Regions from separate parts of the Homo sapiens genome. Here region 1 is linked to region 2. The links are contacts of gene promoters, found by promoter capture Hi-C in blood cells and fetal thymus (Javierre and others, 2016). All regions are on one chromosome and are shown on one strand. The core of a region is centred on a gene start or on the middle of the fragment in contact, and the rest is flanking DNA. Distances in the headings are between cores, read along the strand shown. Region 1 holds the start of KLK14 (kallikrein related peptidase 14). Region 2 holds the start of SIGLEC9 (sialic acid binding Ig like lectin 9).

The links. The method cuts DNA at HindIII sites, captures the fragments that hold promoters and counts their contacts. A CHiCAGO score of 5 or more calls a contact.
Region 1: the fragment with the promoter of KLK14 here is called in contact with the fragment with the promoter of SIGLEC9 in region 2 in 11 of 17 cell types (naive CD8 T cells, fetal thymus, non-activated CD4 T cells and 8 more); the score reaches 16.7 in naive CD8 T cells.

Annotation. Positions count from the first base shown.
Region 1 is chr19:51,080,466-51,086,586 of GRCh38, reverse strand. It overlaps KLK14 (kallikrein related peptidase 14), which reads left to right and starts at 3,700. Exons shown (of 6, transcript NM_001369775.2): 1 at 3,700-3,865; 2 at 3,951-4,012; 3 at 4,884-5,055. The coding sequence starts at 3,973. The HindIII fragment of the contact is 24,105 bases long and covers 1-5,353 here.
Region 2 is chr19:51,122,231-51,129,048 of GRCh38, reverse strand. SIGLEC9 (sialic acid binding Ig like lectin 9) reads right to left here and starts at 4,143. Exons shown (of 7, transcript NM_014441.3): 1 at 3,654-4,143; 2 at 3,174-3,452; 3 at 2,921-2,968; 4 at 1,753-2,019; 5 at 1,010-1,100; 6 at 539-635. The coding sequence starts at 4,074. RefSeq lists an enhancer at 73-122. The HindIII fragment of the contact is 17,590 bases long and covers 1-6,818 here.

The DNA.
Region 1 (6,121 bases), core at 2,451-4,950, 42 kb after region 2:
CCATCCAGCCCCTCAGCCTCCTCCAGGGGAGCACACGTGACACCAGATGGAGTTTCCTGTTGCCCCGCTGGCCTGTTTCACCAGACCGTGAGTTCACAGAGGAGCAGCGACTGAGGCTCTGTGTTCATTCATTCATCAGATGTTTATCGATGCCCGTGGCACAGCAAACAAGACCGTGCCAAGCAGGTGGTGGAGTGGTGAGCGAGATACCCTGGGAACCTAGCATGTGGTGGGAAGAGGGCCCAGCAACCTGGCCACGGCACGGCAGGTGCTGAGGTCCGGGCTGGGGACGGCAAGTCCTTGGGAGCCACCGGCGGTGAACTGGGCCTCATCAGCTGCATCTCCAGCTGTCTCCCTACCTTTGAGCTGAAGGCCTTGGGGAGCCTTCCAGTCATTCTGTGCCCTGGCTCAGGCTCTGCATAAACACAAGAACCCCCTCTTTATTTATTTGTTTGTTTATTTATTTATTTTGCAACAGAGTCTCGCTCTGTCACCCAGGCTGGAGTGCAGTGGCACAATCTCAGCTCACTGCAACCTCTGCCTCCCGGGTTCAAGCGATTCTCCTGCCTCAGCCTCCTGAGTAGCTGGGGCTACAGGCACCCACCACCATGCCCAGCTCAGTTTTTTTGTATTTTTAGTAGAGATTGGGTTTCACCATGTTTTCCAGGCTGGTCTTGAACTCCTAACCTCAGGTGATCCACCTTGGCCTCCCAAAGTGCTGGGATTACAGGCGTGAGCCACAGCACCTGCCCCCCTGCCACCCTTTAAAGAAAGGATTCTCTTGGATCTCAGGGATAGAGTGGCATGAAGGAGCCACTCCCAGGCTCCTGGGGGTTGACCAAGGCCTTCTGCTTAAGTAGGGTGTTCTTTTTAGGAACAGGGAGACCTTGTGTTTACTAGGAAATTCTGTTTTATTTTTAACTTTTTCCTTTGAGATAATTACAGACTCACAGGAGGCTACACACACAGCATAGGGAATCTCCCTCACCTACTTCTCCCCGTGGCGACACCTTGTGTAACTGTCGTTCAGAATGGAAACCAGGAAATCAACACAGAAACCAAACTATTAATGAGACTACAGATCACACTGCGCGTTCATTTTTCACACGCATTTCTTTGCACGTGTGTGTGTGCACGTGGGCTTCTGTGTCTCTTTATCTCATGTGTAGAATCGTGTAATCACCGCCACATCCAGTGCAAAGCTGATTCGTCACCACAGAGCAGCTCCCTCCTGCCACCCCATCCCTGGGTCCCAAGAGAACCCTTTCTTAAAAGAGGGAGTTCTTGACGGGTGTGGTGGCTCATGCCTGTAATCCTTGCACTTTGGGAGGCCAAGGAGGGTGGATCATTTGAGGTCAGGAGTTTGAGACCAGACTGGCCAACATGGTGAAACCCTGTCTTTACTAAAAATACAAAAAAATGAGCGGGGCATGGTGGTGGGTGCCTATAGCCCCAGCTACTCAGGAGGCTGAGGCAGGAGAATCGCTTGAACCCAGGAGGCAGAGGTTGCAGTGAGCCGAGATTGAGCCACTGCACTCCAGCCGGGGCTAAAGAGTGAGACTCTGTCTCAAAAAAAAAAAAAAGAAAAAGAAAAAAAGAAAAAAAAATAAAATAAATAAATAAATAAAATAAATTTAAAAATTTAAAAATAAAGAGGGGGTTCTTGTGTTGATGCCGAGCCTGAACCAAGGCAGAGGAGGCCGGGAAGGCTTCCCAAGGCCTTCAGCTCAAAGCAGGGAGGCCCATAGTTAAACAGAAACAGTTCAGGAATCACAGAAAGGCACCTGGGGAGAGATGGGTGTGTGGCTCCAGATGCAGGTGCCCAGACAGTGCGTCCCCAGGTGTACAGACAGACCCAGGCCAAGCTCCAGCTCAAAGAGCCAGCCTAGGGGGGTGCCGAGGTGGAGGGAGGCTGAGTCAGGCTGAGGCCGGGGAACAGTTGGGGTAGCCAAGGGAGGCAAGCAGCCTCCTGAGTCACCACGTGGTCCAGGTACGGGGCTGCCCAGGCCCAGAGACGGACACAAGCACTGGGGAATTTAAGGGGCTAGGGGAGGGGCTGAGGAGGGTAGGCCCTCCCCCAAATGAGGATGGAACCCCCCCAACTCCAGAACCCCCCTGCAGGCTGGCCAGAATCCTTCCCCATCTCATTCACTCTGTCTCTCCTGCTCTCTGCCGTCTCCTATTTTGAATTTCCAACCCCGTCTGTTAAGACTGTCCTTCTGTCTCTGAATCTCTGTCCCCTTCTCTTTCTGGGTCTCTCTCCCTCTCCCTCTGGGTCTCTGTCCCCCTCTCTGGGTCTCTGTCACTCTCTCTTTGCATCTCCAGCTCTCACTTTGTCTCTGCACCTAGCAGATCCCAAGCTGGGGAATGCCAGTTCTGGCACCAACCTTCCTGCTCCCTGCTGGGGCCTCTGCTCCCCCATCTCTCAGGAGTCGAAAGTGAGAAAGCAAGGTGGGCAGCTCTGCTCCAGGTCCAGGTATCTCCCGCCCACCTCCTGCCCGTCCTCTATCCCACCCCTCCTCTCCATCTCTCCCTGGCGCTGCCATCTCTCATCTAGGCCTCCGTCTCCTCTGTCATTGTCCCCATCCCCTGTAGGTGCCCATCCTTCCCGTCTCCCCTCTGCCATCGGCCTGCCTGTCCCATCCTCTTTCTCCCACCATGTCCCGTTCTCTTCCACGTCTCATGCCCGCACTGCCTTCATCATCATCGCTGTTGTTCTGTGTGTGTTTGTGGTGAGTGCCGCATGGTGGGGGCGTCTCGGCCTCTCTCCTCTCTCTCCACTGTTTTCTCTTTCTGTGTGTCTGTTTCCATTCTATCTCCACCTTCTTCCCTCCGTCTTTTGCTTTTCTATCTCCACTTCTCCACACCCCTCTCTCCCTGCGTCTCTGTGTCTCCCTCTTCCTCTGTCTTGTTTTTTTCCCACCGTCTGCCTCTTCTGTTCCCTGTCACATCCAACTTCCACCGGTTTCTCCAGCTCTCTCCTCAGTTCCTTCTCTCATGAGCACACCTGCCTCTGTGCTCGTATTCCTGGACTCCTCTCTCTCCACTGTCATATCTTCTCATTCATTTTCCCAGTCTCTCTCTGTCTCTTGCTCTCCCCCTCTCTGTCACTCTGTCTCTGTCTCTCTCTTTCTCTCTCTCTCTCTGTGTCTCTCTGTCTGGCTCTCTCTCTGTCTCTCTCTCCATCTCTCTCTCTCTCTCCCCCCCGTCACCCTGTCTCTGTCTCTCTCTGTCTGTGTGTCTCTCTGTCTTTCTCTCTCTCCATCTCTCTCTGTCTCTCTCTCTCTCTCTCTCTCTCTCCCTCTCTCCCTCCTCCCGTGACTCCCTCTCTCAGTCCATCTCTTCCTCCCTCTCTCAGCCCCTTCGTGCCCTTTCCTCTGACACTCCCCACCCTGGTTTCCTGACTCCACCACTAGATCCACCACCTCCAGCAACTGGGAACCCTCCCCTGCCCACCCTGCCCTGGGGTCCCCTCCCAGGATTCCTTCTAGATTATAGCATCTTCCCTGGGCGGGTTCTCATGAACAATTGTGGCTGCTTTTTTGGCCAGACAGGGGAGGGAGGGGATGGGATCAGGGAGTCCTGGAATGGGAACTAGGCAATAAAAAAAAAAAAATGTCAGAAGCAGGGCGGCGGGAGGTGGGGGCAGGGCCAGCTGTCCTTACCAGGGATAAAAGGCTTTGCCAGTGTGACTAGGAAGAGAGACACCTCCCCTCCTTCCTTCATCAAGACATCAAGGAGGGACCTGTGCCCTGCTCCACATCCTCCCACCTGCCGCCCGCAGAGCCTGCAGGCCCCGCCCCCCTCGTCTCTGGTCCCTACCTCTCTGCTGTGTCTTCATGTCCCTGAGGGTCTTGGGCTCTGGGTAAGTGCCCCTTGCTGTCTCTGCCTCTCAGCCCCCGGTTCTGTTGAAGGTTCCTTCTCTCTCACTTTTTCTCTGCATTTGACAGGACCTGGCCCTCAGCCCCTAAAATGTTCCTCCTGCTGACAGCACTTCAAGTCCTGGCTATAGGTAAGAGAACGGTTGGGTATGACACAAGGGGGTCCCCTGGAGACTCTGAGAAGAGATGGGGATGGGTCCTTGGGGCCCCTGGATGCTCATGGTGACCTCATAAGAAAGAGCAGGGAGTGGTTTGGGGGTCATGGTGGGGGAACGTGCTGGAGGCCTAAATTCCTAGTTGTGGAGGTGCTAGGGAATTGTGGGGCCGGGGAGAGAGGTGTTTATAAGGTCTGGTGCAAAATACATAAGGAATCTTAGGGAACTATTAGGTCCTGAGTGGGTCATAGCAGAAAGATCACGGGGCTCTACCTGACTGTGTTAGGAAAGAAACAATGTCAGAAAGATGTTTTGTTGTCAGAGGGAAGGTGGAGAAGGATGATGGGATGGCGGGATCGTGGCATGGGGTGGCGGGATCGTGGCATGGGTGTGTGAGGTGGATGGGGGCAAGTGTGGGGCAAGAGATGGCGGATCCTTGGGGTCCCACTGAGTGGGAACGTTGGGGAGGAGACAGGGAGGTCCTTGAATGTGTTGGGGAAGGACTCATTGGGGGGAAATGTGGCATATTTCGAGAAGTGATCACAGAAATTATGGGAGCATAGAGCTAAGGGTCGTAGATGTAGCAAGGCCCTGGATAAGGTGGCCACGGCACAAAATAAGAGATGCTACGGAGGTGACTTGGGAGGTGAGTCAGAAAGCTCTCCGTGCTGGGGCAATAACGGGGTCAATATTGGGCATGTCTCACCCTGGGTGGGACAGATAGAGGCGGGCAGTTTAGGGGTTAGACCAAAAGGAAGGGGATTTGTCAGTTTTGGAATCCTACAAACTTGTGGAGTGGAGAGTGTTTGCTCATCTACTTTCCCCACCCAATCCTGTCCACTCCTAGCCATGACACAGAGCCAAGAGGATGAGAACAAGATAATTGGTGGCCATACGTGCACCCGGAGCTCCCAGCCGTGGCAGGCGGCCCTGCTGGCGGGTCCCAGGCGCCGCTTCCTCTGCGGAGGCGCCCTGCTTTCAGGCCAGTGGGTCATCACTGCTGCTCACTGCGGCCGCCCGTAAGTGACCCCCTCCCCTGTCCCTGTACCTAGTGAATTCCAGAGTCTAAAGCCCTAGAGCTGAGCTGAGAACCTGGATCTCTGTATAGAACCCAATGTAGTGGCTGGCTCCTGGTTTGAGGTCTAGAGAAGAGCCTGGAACAAAAACACAGCTCGGGATGTGGGCTCCTCCATAAATCTCGAACTCAGCATAGGTTCTGAAAGCAGATGGGCAGCTTGGAACCCATGGACCTGCTGAGAACCGAACATCTGATCCAGTGATTCTTCCAGAGGCCACACATTACATCGAGACCAAGCTTAGCCCATTCCAGATTGGTGGCTGAATTCAGGACCCCGTCTACATTCAGAAACTCAGGACACTACGTAGAACTCAGAGCCCAGTTCAGGACCTGCAGTCTAGCCATAAATCCAGAACTAGAACGCTGCTCACAGCTGGAACATACAACTCTAAGAATAGAGGCAAAACCTGGAGGCTGTTTCACACCCAAGGTTTAGTTCAGAGTCTAGTCTATAGCTCCGCTATGAGCAGACTTCAACCCAGTGTTTGAATCCCAGAATGTGGCGGGTGCGGTGGCTCATGCCTATAATCCTAGCACTTTGGGATGCTGAGGCAGGCAGATCACCTGAGGTCAGGAGTTCGAGACCAGCCTGAGCAACATAGAGAAACCCTGTCTCTACTAAAAATGCAAAATTAGCCAGGCATGGTGGCACATGCCTGTAATCCCAGCCACTCGGGAGGCTGAGGCAGGAGAATCACTTGAACCTGGGAGGCGGAGGTTGCAGTGAGTCAAGATCGCACCATTGCACTCCAGGCTAGGCAACAAGAGCGAAACTCCATATCAATCAATCAATCAATAAATCCCAGAATGCAGATCCTAATCAGAAGCCCCATATAAAACCTAGACCCCTCCTAAATTCTAGATCTGAACTTACAACCCAGACCCCAGCCAAGAGGTCAAAATGCCTATAAGCCATATCTATGCCATAAACAGGTCAGTCTAGAACCTAGAGATCAAAGCTCAGGCCAGAGTCTAGAATATAAAGGCCAGAATGCAAACCAGACTCT
Region 2 (6,818 bases), core at 2,894-5,393:
CCCACTCTTTATGTTTGTGAATAGTTTTATTGGCACACAGCCATATTCATTTGTTTACACAGGGTATATGGCTTCTTTCTTGCTACAACAGCAGATTTGAGGAGCTGCAATGAGACTGTGTGGCCCATGAAGCCGAAAATAGTTTCTATCTGTCCCTGACAGATAGTATTTGCTGGCTTCTGCTCTAAACGGTATTGAGGGGTGGGGGAACAGCTGTTCAAATGCAGAGGAACTGGACGATGATGTCTTCTGGACAGTCCCCCCAGGCAGGAAAGGAGAGGAGACAGGCAGACAGGTGAGGGAACAAAAGACAGAGATCCTCAGGCCTCAGCAATGAAGGGTCAGGATAGGGAGCAGAGACAATAAAAGCTGTTCTTAGGGGAGGAAACCAACCAAACATTGTGATTTGGGGCTACAGAGAAGAAAGGAAGAACAGAGAGGAGGTAACTTTGGCTACGCCCAGCTGATTAGTCCTGGGGGTCATCCTGTGGGAGGTGTCCAGGCTACATGCTGGCTGTGGAGAGTCCACATCACTCACCTGAGAGGCTGAACCCCTGACAGCGTTTGCATCCTCTATGCCCGTATCTCCCACGCCCGCTGCTGGCCTTGCCGATTTCTTCCTGCAGGACCTCACTCTGAGTGAAGAGACCAGAGAGCCTTTCAGTGTGGTCAGATTGGGGTGCGGTGGGCAGACCAGGTACCCCCATGTGTTTCCTATTAAGGGACTGCAGGGGTGACTGAGGTGGGAAAGCAGTGGTCCAGTCTTAGAGACCCCAAGGTTGAGAACAGAGGCTCTCTTCTCCTGGACAGTGGGTACCAAGGTTTGCCACAGACTCAAAGCTCCTCAAACACAGGCCCACATGGAATTCTCACCATGCACCTGTGACCTCCTTCTTGCCCCAAGCTCTTGACCCATCCAGGTCCCTCCAGCTCTGGCTTCAGGGATCCAGCTTCCAGCCTGTCCTCCCCCAGGGCTCTCCCTCCCTCCCTCTCTAGGGTCCATGCTTACACAACGAAGATGACGCAGAAGGACAGGAAGACCAGGGCTGTGGCTCCAGCTCCCCCGACCACCCCCTGAGTCACTCCTGATGTGGCTTTGCCTGTTGACAGATGGGAGTTATTTTTGTGATATATCATAGAGAATTGGGTCTCTTCTCCTCCCACTTCCTGTAGGGTCCTAGACTTCTATTTCCACTTCCCCTTTCCAGACACAAAGAACAGGAATGAGAGAGAGCAGGACATGGAGAGACTCTTCCTGAGGCCAGTGAGGCGTGCAAGTGCCAGCCATTCCTTTTGGGGTTTTTTTTCACAATTTTAATATTTTATCCATTAATGAATTTGTTTTGCATTCAATTTTTACTTTTTTTAAAAGATTATTGCATTGCAATATGATTTCATTTGATTGCTGACTTGCTGGGCTTTTTCTTTTTTTTAATTTGATGCTCAAAGCAAGTATCTCAGTTGTGTGACTCCAGTTCAGCCCTGCAAAGAAAGGCGCTTGTCTCCCTAAACACACCTGTCCGGCCCCATCCTGTCCCCTCTGAGATCCACTCCTGCCCTCTCCCCACCCCACAACCCTTCCCTGGCAGGAAGAGGACAGTGGTGCTGTGGGTCCCAGGGAAGTTCCAGACCTCACAGCTGAGCACAGACCAGAGCGGAGCTCCTCTCTGAAGGTCCACGCTCAGCAGTTACTAAGGGTGGAGGAGGTGTGTTCTCCTCTCCAGCCCCTCCCCAGCATACTGGTGCACTCACTCTGCAGGGAGACGTTCAGGTAGACCTGCTGAGAGCCGAGAGGGTTCTGAGCTCTGCAGGTGAATTCAGCTGCATCCCTCAGGTGCACCCAAGGCAGCTCCAGCACCCCCGGGTTTGAGGGCTGTGAGGGGCACAGGGTCAGGCCTCTCCAGCTCAGGCTCAGCCTGGCAGGGGGATTGCTGTCAACTGCATCAACTGCACAGACCAGGCGCAGAGACTGGCCCTCTGGGAGTGACAGAGATGAGCCATTTCCCAAGACTGTGGATACTGTAGAAAAAGAGACAGAGGGTCAGAGAGATACATAGATCTGGAGAAAAAGGAAGGATACAGAAAGAGACTGATGACAGCAACTGACACACAGACATAGACTGAAGTTCTGGAAACACACACTTTCACCACTCACTGCTGGGAATGTAAACTTCTCCCCGCTTCATCGAGAACAGTTTGGGCTTATCTTTCAAAATAAGAAAGAACATATAATGTAGCTACATTTTGCTTTTAGGAACTTAACCCACAGGCTTAGATATTCCTGTGGAAGTAGATACAAGATTGTTCTATCCTGCCGTAGGATGAAATTAGTGCCGTGATCTTCCATTAGGAGATGCCACAAAATCAGAGTCCATCCATGCAGTGGACTCACACACAGCCCTAGAGGAGGGTGCGGACAGTCTCACTACGGACGTCAAACCACCTCTGAGATCCTCCAGGTGTACAAACCGAGACTCAGGGCAGCCTGGATGGACAGTGGTTGGTTCTGGGGAGGGGGGCAGGCATCGGAGGAGAGCCTTTGCTCTGCAATTTGAATTTTTGCCCATGGACATTTATCACCTGTCCAGAAGTACTTAGATCAGAACTATCAGAAATAAACAGATAAGGGTGGAGATGTATTCAGGAGATACATGAGAAGGAGCCTCAAAGCCTGGTCCTGCTGTGTGAATGCCACCCTCTTCTTGTTTGAGGCTGAGGGGGGGGTGTGTGGGGGAGTCCAAGGGAGGTGATGGGAGGATGGGAACAAGTGGCCTTGGGGCCTAAGGATACAGAGGGGCCCTGAGTTCACCCACAAGGACATCCCTGTTTGCCAAAGTGAGTCCAGGTTGAGGAATAAGCCAGCCCCATCCTGACCTGAAGGCCCTGCTCCTCCAGCCCCAGGGAGGGAGCTCCATCCTACCTGTGCCGTCTCCTTGGAAGACAGTCATGGTCAAGTTCTGAGGCGGGTCTGGGACAGAAAGACATGGAGACCCGCATCACTGTGAGGGCTGGGGACACTGGCCCTGTCTGTCCCCAGGAGCCGCATAAACAGGGAAGGCAGAGCCAGTGTCCTCCTGACCCCACCACCAGCCCAGATTCCGGGACCCAGCACCCAGTGTCCAGGCTTGACGCTCACCCCATCAGGGACCCAGGCGTCCCGGCCCAGCACTCACAGGACACGTTGAGATGGACGGTCTTGTTCGTGGTCACGCTGGCCCCAGGGAAGGTCACCTGACAGGTGAGGCTGGTGCCATGGTCCTGGGGCTGTGGGATGAGGGTGAGCACCGAGGAGCGGGTGGTGGAGGGGTCCAGGGGGGACACGGAGGTCCCTATCCAGGAGATCATAGGGGGTGTCCCCTGCTCACAGGCCCAGGGCACAGAGCAGGTCAGATTCTGGGGGCAGCCGGACTCCAGGGTGCCTGGGATGAGGATGTTGGGCCTGTGGGTCAAGGCTGGTGAAGAGAGGGGGACTCAGGATCAGGTCAGAGGATCCATGGTGCAGCCCTGGGGGGAGCTCAGGCTCTGGTCCAGCTCCTGCCCTGAGCCAACTCGCTTCACCCTAAGCCCTCTCCTGGGGCAGGGGCTCCATCCCAGCCTTTCCCTGCCGCCCCCATGACCTTTCCCTGTGGCCTTTCCTGGAGCCTGTGCCTTACCTGTCACATTCACAGAGAGCCGGTGATGTTTATAATTCCATTTTATACTTCCTTTCTCCATACGAAAGAAGTATCTCCCCGCATCACTTCTTCTGGCATCTCTGATGCTCAGGGTGCAATTCTTGGTATGTGGGTCCCCAAGGAGGTGGAATCGGTCCCGAGTCTCCTCCCACACTGCCCGAGCTGGGTTGTTTGTGGCCACTGGAGCATCCTGGTCTGTATTGGCCCCTTCCCGGAACCAGTAGCCATGAACTACTGGGCCAGGGTAAATCCAGCCATGCGAGGGGTAGGAGAAGGAGCAGGGCACATGGACACACAGGCCTTCCTGCACCGTCACGGAACTCTGCATCGTCAGCAGTTTACTTGTCTGTCCTTCCGCCCTCTCCCTCCCCCAGAGCAGGGGCAGCAGCAGCAGCAGCATGTCTGGGGTTAGAGGTGCCAGGGCCGCGAGGGAACGTCTGTTCCTCAGGGTTCTTCTCTCAGGAACTGCGGGCTCAAGACTTAGAGGAGGCCCTACAGGAAGACAGGGGCGAGGTCGGAACAGTGACCTCCTCAGAGGAGGAACTTTACACCCAGACACTGTCAGGCCCGGGTCAGCCCTGGGAGATCCACCGTCCACCACCCCATGTTCACTCCTGGGTCCCTGAGGCCAGAGCGGGAGACAGACTCACCCAGATTCCCACCCCATGCAGGGCCCACCCCACCTCCTGCCTCCCTCTCAATGCCCTTCCCCTTAGGTGACATTTTCTGCAGGGTGAAAATGAGTCCCATCTGGCCAGACCCCTGAGTCAGAGGCTGTGGATATCTGCGTAGCTCAGAGGTGGGACTTGGGGCCATGAGAGATGGGGGTGCAGGTGGGGTGAGCAGGCAGCCTCTCATCCCCCCCAAGCAAGCACGAGGTGGGCACCCCCTTTCTGCACAACGAGGTCAACACAGCAGAGCTGGACACTGTCCCCAAGGGGTCACTGTGCGGAGGGGAGACATGGAGGCTCCTGACGTCTGAGCTGTCCACGGCAGGAGCTTCAGTTGGGGGGCACAGGCAGGATGGGGTCACTCTCCCGTAGGTCAGGGGTTCAATCTCAGGAGGACTGAGCAGAGGGACATGGGGCTGTGGAGGTGAGGATTCTATGTGTTGATACACGCCAAGGACACAGAGGGGAGCCTGGCTCGCAGGAGGTCTGGGAAACTGAGGCTGTGACTGTTGTACTGTGGGGCTTGGAAGGGAGGAAATTCGGAAGAAAAGGGGCAGATTTCAAAAGGGAAGATATTTCTCCTTTCCTCACTGCACCACGAAGGGTTTCTTCACCACCGATGTCTCGCTCAGCCACACTTCCCTGGTTACTCCAGAACATGAGGGATCAGCTGGCCCTGGGGCTTTGCTTCTGCAAGCTCTGCTCCCAGGGGTCCCGGTGAACAGGAGATGTGGAGTGAGGACACCAGCCCCGGGGCATGCACCCTCCGCGATGGGCAGGATTTCATGGGAGAAGAAACATGCACCTGAATTCAGCAGAAGATTTTTTGTAACTGTGTGGCTGGGCTGGGAGGAACTGGGAGTATCCTGTGTGGTGGAGCCTCCTTAGACCGATGTCAGTTTTCTAGAAATATTTTTGGGAGAAATATAAGCCATATAGATAAAAATGTCTTCCCCCCAAGAAAAAATCTCAGCGGTTTACACATATGAACATGCTTAGAGAAACAGAACACTGGGGATGCCGCAACACCTCCTCTTTGTTACCCCACTTCCTGTCAGCCACACCCCACTTCCTCCTGAAGCAGCCCCAGCCTCACTTTAACGCTAATGGTCTCCATGCTTTTCTAGGTAGTTTTATCATCTGTGCACGTTGCCGTGAATACCTCAGGCCCCCATGTTTGCCCAGTCGCTCCCTGGGAAGTTGCAGCATCTCAACTGCAATGGTCAGAAGGGCTGAGCCATGGCTGACAGTGTTGTCCTGCATCTGTTCTGCAGGGCTGGGTGTCCACATCTGAGTTCTGTCTTGAGCAGGAGGGGCTCAGTCAGGCCTCTCAGCACTGCTCCCCTGGGGCCCTCCACACCTGCAGAGCCAACACGGGCCTCAGATTAGCATCGGCCACTTCAATTCTAACTCAGGCGGGACAGGACAGCTCAGCCCCACCTGGAACTCGGGGAACAATCCTTCGGCTTCCCTAGAAAAGAGCAGGCCTGCTCACCTGGAGTAGTAGCTCCAGGTGAGGCCATGGGGGTTGGGGGGAAGCCAGTGCCCAGGATGGCCCCCTGATCAGGTGAGAACCAGGGGCCAGAAGCCCTCCTGCTTTTCACTCACACATCTGTAGCCAGAGGGGCTTCCTGGGAAAGGGTAGAAGCGTGTGAGATTCTGTTCCCAGGCCTCCACCCCTCTGACAGCCCAAACACCCGACTAGGCTGCCTGCCTCAGCAGCTGTCCTGCAACTCACTCTGCACAGAGGCTCAGGGAAATGTGCTGAAATCGCAGTGGGTGGTGAGCCCAACAGGTCAATGCTCCTCCGTCCCAGCCCCTATCTGAGGCAGCTCCAGGCCCCCGGGTGCTGAGAGCTGGGAGGAATTCAGTGTTCTTCCCTCTCAGGACCAGCTCAGCCGGGCGGGGTTGGGAGGTGGGGTGCTGTCAGCCACACAGACCACAGGGACTCTCCCTCCAGGACAGGCAGTGGTGTACCATTGTTCAGGGTCTTTGGGGCTGGACGAAAAAAACAGAGAAAGCAGGAAGAGTGGTGCTGAGAGGTCGGTTTCTCCCTTACCTCCCATTCGGAATGAGACAGAAGACACATGACTGTTTGACTCATGCTTTTTTTTTTTTTTTTTGAGATGGAGTCTTGCTCTGTCACCCAGGCTAGAGTACAGTGCCGTGATCTCAGCTCACTGCAAGCTCCGCCTCCCACGTTCAAGCGATTCTCCTGCCTCAGCCTCCTGAGTAGCTGGGATTACAGGCATGTGCCGCCACGCCAGGTTAATTTTTGTATTTTTAGTAGAGACGGGATTTCACCATGTTGGTCAGGCTGGTCTTGAACTCCTGACCTCGTGATCTGCCCACCTCAGCCTCCCAAAGTGCTGGCATTACAAGCGTGAGCCACCAAGCCTGGCCCGGCTCATGCTCTTATGTACACAAATCCCGGAGTCCACGCTAGCTGACAGACCCTGGAGGGAAGGAGGCT